3 separate regions of the Homo sapiens genome follow, and regions 1 and 2 are each linked to region 3. Evidence: promoter capture Hi-C in 16 types of primary human blood cells and fetal thymus (Javierre and others, 2016). All regions are on one chromosome and are shown on one strand. The core of a region is centred on a gene start or on the middle of the fragment in contact, and the rest is flanking DNA. Distances in the headings are between cores, read along the strand shown. Region 1 overlaps TTC23 (tetratricopeptide repeat domain 23). Region 2 overlaps LRRC28 (leucine rich repeat containing 28). Region 3 holds the start of IGF1R (insulin like growth factor 1 receptor).

Region 1 (2,700 bases), core at 26-2,525, 560 kb after region 3:
CAAAATAGACAATTAAATTAGAGGAAAGTCAGACAATTACACACCATATGGAGGTCTAAAATGAAAAGACTAGAGCTGGATTATATCAATTGGTAGAGATATATCTCAAAAATACAGATGGGAAAAAAGGAAGTTACAGAAGGAAACATACATATAAAGTTTTAAAATATGACAAATTTTATATATATATACACACATATATATATGCTATACATATACACAGTAAAGGTACAAAAACATTCAGAGGAATGAAAAACACTAAATTTCAGCATAATAATTGCCTATAATGTATGGGAATAAAATGGTATTGGGAAGAATGCATAACAAGCTTCTATTTATCAGAAATAGATTTTGTAAGCTTAGTAGTGTGTATACTATTCTTTACACTACAGAATTTACATAATACTACATATATATGTGTCTAAAATATTTTATTAAAAAGATGAATACAACACGCAATTGCACAAAGAATGAAGCACATCCTACCCCTCACCTCCTCAGGTTGCTGTTGCAGGCTATTTCATGGTCCTGGCACTAACACAGCCAGAAATGGAGGCTATCAAGCTAATGCAACCCACAATGAGCCTTCTGAAGCTCATTGTGAGTACACTATTCACATAAAAGAAAAGGCAAAATAGAAAATAAAATTACTTTAGTTTTATATTTAATAAAAAAGGAATTGAGAGTACTACATCAAGAAATAACTAAATTATAGTCTTACATCCATCTACAACTTACTTAAAGCATCAGTCAATTTCGGGTAATCTTGTGTGTTTCCATTTTCTTATGTGTAATGTTTGAGAGCAATATTTTCTCCTTTCCATTTCTGGCTACCTGCCAGGGATGATTTGAGGATTTATTATCTAGTGTATCCACAATGTACTTGGTAGCTTAAGAAATACACTAGACAGATGAAAAGACAGAAAATTTTGAATAACAGAATGTGGCAGTATGTTAATTTGGCAGGTGCACAACTTAAGCCATGGCATATTTTATTGAATGAAAGTTTATACGCAGTAATTCTACAGAGCACAAGAGGAGACACTATCTCATTGCAGACAAGTTTCAGATCTCATAGGGATGGAGACTCGTTTTAACAAGCAATAAACAAATGCAATTTCTGGTATTACTAAGGCAACAGAGTTTCCTTTTAAAAACTCTGGAATTTGGCAAGAATATTGAGCACCAGTATAAAGGAAAGGCTTTGTGTGAATATCACTGATCAGAATCTGATGAGAAACCAATCCCAAAAGATAACAAATGGGATTTTCCATAGCCAACATGAGAAAAGAATTACATCTGGGTATCTTTTTATCACCTGATACATACAGGTAAAGGCTTTGCTCTGTTGAATGCATTGTGGGGTTTCCAGTCTACATCAGTGAATGTAATGTGTGCCATGGTCAGGAGCTTGGACACTAGCGTTGAATAAGCAGGGCTCTGCTGGGCCACTTTCCAGCTTTATCGCTTCCTGCCTGTGTGACCCTGGAAGTGACCTCACTTCTCTCAGCTTTAGATGCTACATTTGAACATGGGAATACTAACAGTATCCACTACACAGAGAGGACTAAGAATGAAAGGAGATGACATCTGTAAAGCACTTAGCAAAAGCCTGACACAGAAGGTGGTCAATAATTGGTAGCTAGTGTGGTTTTAAAAAAATCATTATTATTATATTTTTGAGAAGGGGTCTCACTCTGTCACCCAGGTTGGAGTCCAGTGGCATGATCTTTGCTCACTGCAACCTCTGCCTCCCGGTCTCAAGCAGTCCTCCTACCTCAGCCTCTGGAATAGCTGGGACTACAGGTGTATGCTACAACGCCTGGCTAATTTTTTGTATTTGTAATTATGTATTAGTTGTATTAATTTGAGACAGGGTTTTGCCATGTTGCCCAAGCTGTCTCGAACTCCTGGGCTCAAATGGTCCGCCTGCTTCGGCCTCCCAAAGTTCTGGGATTACAGGTGTAAGTCACTGTGCCCTGCCTATTATTTGATATATATTATTATATGTTGTGTTATTTATTTAGAGATATATGATTATATATTTATGTTACATATTAATACTAATAACATGTCATTTTAAAACATGATTCTATTATTTAAATCATTATTCTCATATATTTAGGAAAAGGTACATTATAAGGGTATAATGTCAGAAAAGGAAAGACAGAAATGCAGTGCTCTAAAACATTAAAGCTTTAGGAGATTCAAGAAATAGAAAGCAGATAAAGTATATGAGAGTAACCTGTGCCATGTGGTTTTTCTTTGGCTTCCCCACATTGAAAATAATAATAATAAAAACAAAAATGAGACTTGTGTAAGTTAAGAGCATATCTTCAACCACAGAAATATAGGATTAGGAAGAGTCCCAGAGAAAAAAAGCAATTTCCTTCTTTGTTAAGTAAGCAAAAAGTATTCTAGGCACATAGTGTCCCACAGGAGCAGCTGACAGGAGAAACATGTCTGCTGGAGAAGAGCAGGATGTTCTCAGGGAGCAGGCAAGGGAGAAGCAGGACTTGGAACATGTGAGCATCTGTAAGAGCCTTTATGTCCAAAAGAGAGAAGCAGAGAAAATGCAACTTAGACATCAAGGAACCTCAGGTGATGGTAAGAACTAAAAATTTTTTTAAATGCTGAGTCCAGAAAGCAAAAGTTAGATGTAGAAATTTCTGACTGGACCAATTTTGGGAGGACTATGGG
Region 2 (2,700 bases), core at 117-2,616, 610 kb after region 3:
ATCCACTGGACCTGGTATCAAACCCTTGCTTTTATCCCTTGTGAACGGTCTAACCTTGGACAAATTACTGAAGCCTTGAGTTTGTTTCTTTTTGTGTTAACTGATGGTGAAGTTTGTTTTAGCTCTGTGCCTAGTGGATAAAACGGCAAATGTTACTTGTCTTCTTGCCCTTGTCAATTTTGGAGCTAGAAGAGAATTTATAATAATCTGCCCTGGACTCAGGCCTTTAAACCAGTACATTAATTGCTATCTCCATTCTGCATATTAGGCAACTGGAGACCCAGAGACATTGTAATATTATAGAATAATACAGGATTCTTGTTTCTGAGTGCAGTGTTTCTTCTTTCATTGAAATAATTTAAACTAATGAGACTGTGTGGCCCTGGATCTATTTCTTTGATGCCTCTGATAATCCATAAAGCTAAAAACAAAGAGGCGAGGCATCGTGGCTCATGACTGTAATCCCAGCACTTGGGGAGGCTGAGGTGGGAGGATTGCTTGAGCTCAGGAATTTGAGACTAGCCTGGGCAACACAGTGAGACCCCCATCTCTACGAACAAGTAAAACAATTAGCTGAGTGTGGTGGTGCTCTCTATAGTACCAGCTACTTGGGAGGCTGAGGTGGGAGGATCACTTGAGCCCAGGAGTTGAGGCTACAGTGAGCTATGATTGAGTCACTGCGCCCCAGCCTGGGCAACAGAGTGAGACCCTGTCTCTAAAAAAAAATAAGAAGAAAGAAAAGAATAAAGAGATAAAGAAAAAAATCAGAATATAGGACAATATTTATATATTAGGAAGTGAAGAAAATGAAGCTATTAGTGCTCTAGATATAAATAATATATATTTTAATATTTTTGAAGTACCTTAAGCTAAATACAAAATGAGGTAGTTCATAAAAGAAATGGGGTTTGCTGCATTTGATTTTTAAGCTTCTCCTTTGGTTGTATGTTATGAAACTGGTCACTGTTTTTCTTACACAAGGTTTCCTATCTCAAGTGCAAAAACTATTTTTTTCCATTAGGACTATTTCTAATAAGTAATAAATATTGCTTAATCAGAGTATTTTTATTAAATTGTTATTCATTTTAATCTCCTCCTAAATATGTGTGACAGTTTTAGTTTTGAAAGTAAAATGTAGGATTGAATGTATTAATTATTTTTTTCAGTGTCTTCAAGTGGCTCTGTGTGCTAACTGGTTTATATGGCAATTCTTGTAAAAAATCTTACAATGAATAAATTTTCTCGTTCTCTTTATAGAAATGGACCAATTTTGACAAGATATAGTGCTGCAGCGTGCCTGATGGGATATATTCAGTCATGGCGTCCGAACTTTGTAAGACGATCTCTGTGGCAAGGCTAGAAAAGCACAAGAATTTGTTCTTAAATTATAGGAATCTGCACCATTTTCCATTGGAGTTACTGAAAGATGAGGGACTGCAGTACTTGGAGAGACTCTATATGAAAAGGAACTCCCTGACATCCTTGGTACAGTATTATATTACACTACTGAAAAATTATTTATACATGTGGTCCTGATCAAGATACATTTACATACCCTAAGGTATTCAGACCAAGACTTATATCCCCTGTTGTTATATATACAGTTAATATAAATACACACACAGGGGTTTCTCATTGGCTATGAATTTGTTATCCAAGTTCGTGCAGTTATGAGGTTGCCGGAGAAGTTGTGTAGGAAAGCAAAATACTCACTGATGTATGACTTATAAAGTTAGTACCCATTCAGAAACCCATCTTCGTTTAGCATGTGCTTCTGTCCTGACTTGTAATTTGTTTGTGTGTTAAGCTTCTCAGGTGATTCTTGAATATTACAGCATTCACCAGACCAGTTAAAAAGTAAACGAGAAAGACCAAAAATGCTTTTGAGGTACAGGCATTAAAGGGAGAATGATTTGAAAATTAAAGCATTAAGAGATGCACTTGGGAAGCTTAATGTAACTTTTCAGTGTTTTGAAAGCAAAACCTTTATGATTGCCCTGTGAAACTCAAATGATTTTGAATTGGGCTAGCATACAATTTTTTGGAAAAAATTTTGCCACAAAGGCAACATTTAATTTGCTCTTTTTATGTTCTAAGAATAAGCACGTAGTTTTCATTATAATCTGAATTGTATTACATATAAGATAAACTAAAAGTTTTTCAAGAGAATGTCCAAATCAAGCTTTTTATTCCTATTATTTATTGTAAAATTTGGTCTCTGTATTAAATGGATTTACTTTGTATGGCCTTTTCTGGTTATCACTTAACCTTATTTGAATCTTGTACTTGAATTCTAGTGCTTACTCATTTTAGATGATTTATGAAATCTTACTACTTTGTGAATTTACCCATTCTTCATTCCCTTCCCTATACTGGACTTTGCTAAATATCTGGAAATTGTATCTTATTGGCTTCAAGTATATGGCATGTTTTCCTGGAAAAGTTTTATTTAATCTATGTACAATGCCTATAGTGGGTAGAAAGCATTATAAAATTAGTTTATCTTTGCTCTGTCTGGAAGTAAATAGATACGTATGTCTTGTTCTTTTGTGATTGGCATATTGGCATATATGTTGAATGCCTACTTATATTTCTGAAATTAGATTTTTCAGTTTTCCAACTTGGAAAATCTATTTGCAGTTATAGGAATCCTTTTTTGCAAAGTCATCATCCCGTGCTATGAAACCATATTAGTACTTT
Region 3 (2,700 bases), core at 152-2,651:
AGCATTTATTCATTAGATGGCAGTCCTAGGGGAGTCTCGCTTTGGGGAAACCTCTCCTCCTGCACATTCAAGAAAACAACCGCGGAGACTTAGGGTCGGTACTGGTTTCCAGTCACTTACGTAGCAAACGAAGCAAGAGGAACGTGCCTGGGAGGACCCGAGACAGGTGCGGGTGGGTTTCCGCAGTAGCCGCTGATCCCGAGTGCATGCGGCGTGTTCCCGGGTCGGGACCGCGGCCAAGGGAGGCTTCCCGGCCCCAGCCTCCACCCCCTCCTCGGCGCCCCGGGACCCGGACACGCCCCCCGAGCTTCGGAGACCCGCAGCGTGCACGCGCCCCGGCCGCTCCCCGCAGCCGCCCACGTGGTGGAGCCCTGAGCTGCGCGAGGCCGCGGAGAGCGCTCAGGGCGGGCGGCTGGTCCGGGAGGCCACGCCAGCGCGACCCAGCCGAGTCGGCCCCCAGCCCGGGCCCCCACATTTCCTCCCCCGGAGGGAGGGAGGCGACTCTCCGCGGGCTGCCCTCCCCAGCGCCCGCCGCGCCCTCTGGCGGCCGCCGCGGGGACGCGCCCGGGGCACGCGGCGCTGCCTGTCTGGGCCCCCCTTCCGGGGCGCGGGGCCCGCGAGGGGCGGCGGGGTCCTCTCTCCTCGAGCCACTCTGGGCCGAGCCACACGGGCCGCGCCCTTCCCCCTCCGCTCCCCCTGAGCCCCCAAACTCCGGGCTCCACGGTCGCAACGCCGCGGGCACCCCAGCCTGGCGTGAAAGTGCCCGGCGTAGTAGCCTGGGGGGGGGGTCCCCTTTCTCCCAGGTGCGCCCCTTCCGCCACGTTCGGGCTTTCCAGTACGCAGCGAAAAAAATGCCGCATGCACGCATTTATTTATTTTGCAACAGCTGCAAGAAACAATGAAGCTTTTCAAGAACCGGGGAAACGCGCTTTCCAGCCGCGCTGTTGTTGTTTTCAATGAACCTCTCCCAGCCCCGCACTCCCCGCCCACCCCTCCCCTCTCCTGCCCACCCCTCCCCTGCCTAGCCTTTCCCTGGCTACCCACCCCTGCCCCGCCGAGACCGGACCGGCGGCGGGGGCATTGTTTTTGGAGTCGGGCGGGAGGGGAGGGCGCGTGCGGGGTGGCCGGCGCAGTGCGGTGGGGGCGGGAGCGGGTGGGCACGCGCGCGTGTCTCTGTGTGCGCGCGGGAGGCGGTGGGGCGGGAGATGGGGGCGGCGCCTCGCAGTCTCGCGCCCCACGCCCGGGCTCCGCTCCGCACGTCTTGGGGAACCGGGCTCCGGTTTTTTGCGCGCGCCGGCCTGGGCCGGGCCCTCGGCGCGCCGCTGCTGCGGCGGTGGCCGCTCGAGTGTGCGAGCGGGCGCGTGTGCGCGGGCCAGGGCGCGCGCGCGCGCGCGAGCCCCCAGTGTGTGGCAGCGGCGGCGGCGGCGCGGCGAGGCTGGGGCTCTTGTTTACCAGCATTAACTCCGCTGAGCGGAAAAAAAAAGGGAAAAAACCCGAGGAGGAGCGAGCGCACCAGGCGAACTCGAGAGAGGCGGGAGAGCGAGAGGGACGCCGCCAGCGAGCCTGCCCACGGCCGGCGCTCGCAGACCCTCGGCCCCGCTCCCCGGATCCCCCCGCGCCCTCCACGCCCCTCCCGCGCGGGGGCAGCTCCACGGCGCGCCTCGCCTCGGCTGTGACCTTCAGCGAGCCGGAGCCCCCGCGCAGAGCAGGCGGCGGCGGGCGGGGGCCGGGCGGGGGCCGGCGCGGGGCGGGCGGCGGCGCAGAGCCGGGCGGCGCGGCGGGAGTGCTGAGCGCGGCGCGGCCGGCCCGCCGCTTTGTGTGTGTCCTGGATTTGGGAAGGAGCTCGCCGCGGCGGCGGCGGCGCTGAGGGAGGAGGCGGCGGCGAGCGGAGCCAGGAGGAGGAGGAGGAGGGGGAGCCGCTCATTCATTTTGACTCCGCGTTTCTGCCCCTCGCCGGCCTCGCCTGTGACCCGGACTTCGGGGCGATCTTGCGAACTGCGTCGCGCCCTCCCGCGGCGGAAGCTCGGGCGTCCGGCCGCCTCCCGCGCGGCCAGGGCCGGGCTTGTTTTTCCTCGCCTAGGCAGATTTGGGCTTTGCCCCCTTTCTTTGCAGTTTTCCCCCCTTCCTGCCTCTCCGGGTTTGAAAATGGAGGCCGACGACGCCGACAGCCCGCCCCGGCGCGCCTCGGGTTCCCGACTCCGCCGAGCCCTGGGCCGCTGCTGCCGGCGCTGAGGGGCCGCCCCGCGCCGCCCGCCCCGTCCGCGCACCCGGAGGGCCCCGGCGGCGCCGCCTTCGGAGTATTGTTTCCTTCGCCCTTGTTTTTGGAGGGGGAGCGAAGACTGAGTTTGAGACTTGTTTCCTTTCATTTCCTTTTTTTCTTTTCTTTTCTTTTTTTTTTTTTTTTTTTTTTTTGAGAAAGGGGAATTTCATCCCAAATAAAAGGAATGAAGTCTGGCTCCGGAGGAGGGTCCCCGACCTCGCTGTGGGGGCTCCTGTTTCTCTCCGCCGCGCTCTCGCTCTGGCCGACGAGTGGAGAAAGTGAGTATGTGCCCGCCGCCCGCGGCCACTGCGGGAACTTTTCCTCCGAGGGGCTGCGCCCTGTTTGCGAAACCCGAGTTGCCACCGTCGCAGCTGTCGGGCCCCCGGGCTCGGGAGCGGCGGGGTGGGGCGCAGGGCGGCTCTGCCGGGAGGGAGGCTGCA

The links. Contacts are between HindIII fragments. The CHiCAGO score rates a contact against its expected background, and 5 or more counts as called.
Region 1: a contact is called between a fragment that was not itself captured here and the fragment with the promoter of IGF1R in region 3, in 1 of 17 cell types (endothelial precursors). The highest score is 6.8, in endothelial precursors.
Region 2: a contact is called between a fragment that was not itself captured here and the fragment with the promoter of IGF1R in region 3, in 1 of 17 cell types (total CD8 T cells). The highest score is 5.1, in total CD8 T cells.

The regions. Positions count from the first base shown.
Region 1 is chr15:99,208,072-99,210,771 of GRCh38, forward strand. All of the region lies in intron 8 of TTC23 (tetratricopeptide repeat domain 23), which reads right to left. Among named protein-coding and RNA genes, the nearest start is that of TTC23, 40 kb to the right of the region's middle. The HindIII fragment of the contact is 1,838 bases long and covers 357-2,194 here.
Region 2 is chr15:99,254,641-99,257,340 of GRCh38, forward strand. It overlaps LRRC28 (leucine rich repeat containing 28), which reads left to right. Exons shown (of 10, transcript NM_144598.5): 2 at 1,258-1,485. The coding sequence starts at 1,318. Among named protein-coding and RNA genes, the nearest start is that of LRRC28, 4.5 kb to the left of the region's middle. The HindIII fragment of the contact is 878 bases long and covers 928-1,805 here.
Region 3 is chr15:98,647,138-98,649,837 of GRCh38, forward strand. It overlaps IGF1R (insulin like growth factor 1 receptor), which reads left to right and starts at 1,402. Exons shown (of 21, transcript NM_000875.5): 1 at 1,402-2,538. The coding sequence starts at 2,445. IRAIN (IGF1R antisense imprinted non-protein coding RNA) reads right to left here. Exons shown (of 1, transcript NR_126453.2): 1 at 1-2,700. RefSeq lists an enhancer at 1-125 and silencers at 137-186, 197-666, 727-786, 1,157-1,426. The HindIII fragment of the contact is 3,709 bases long and covers 903-2,700 here.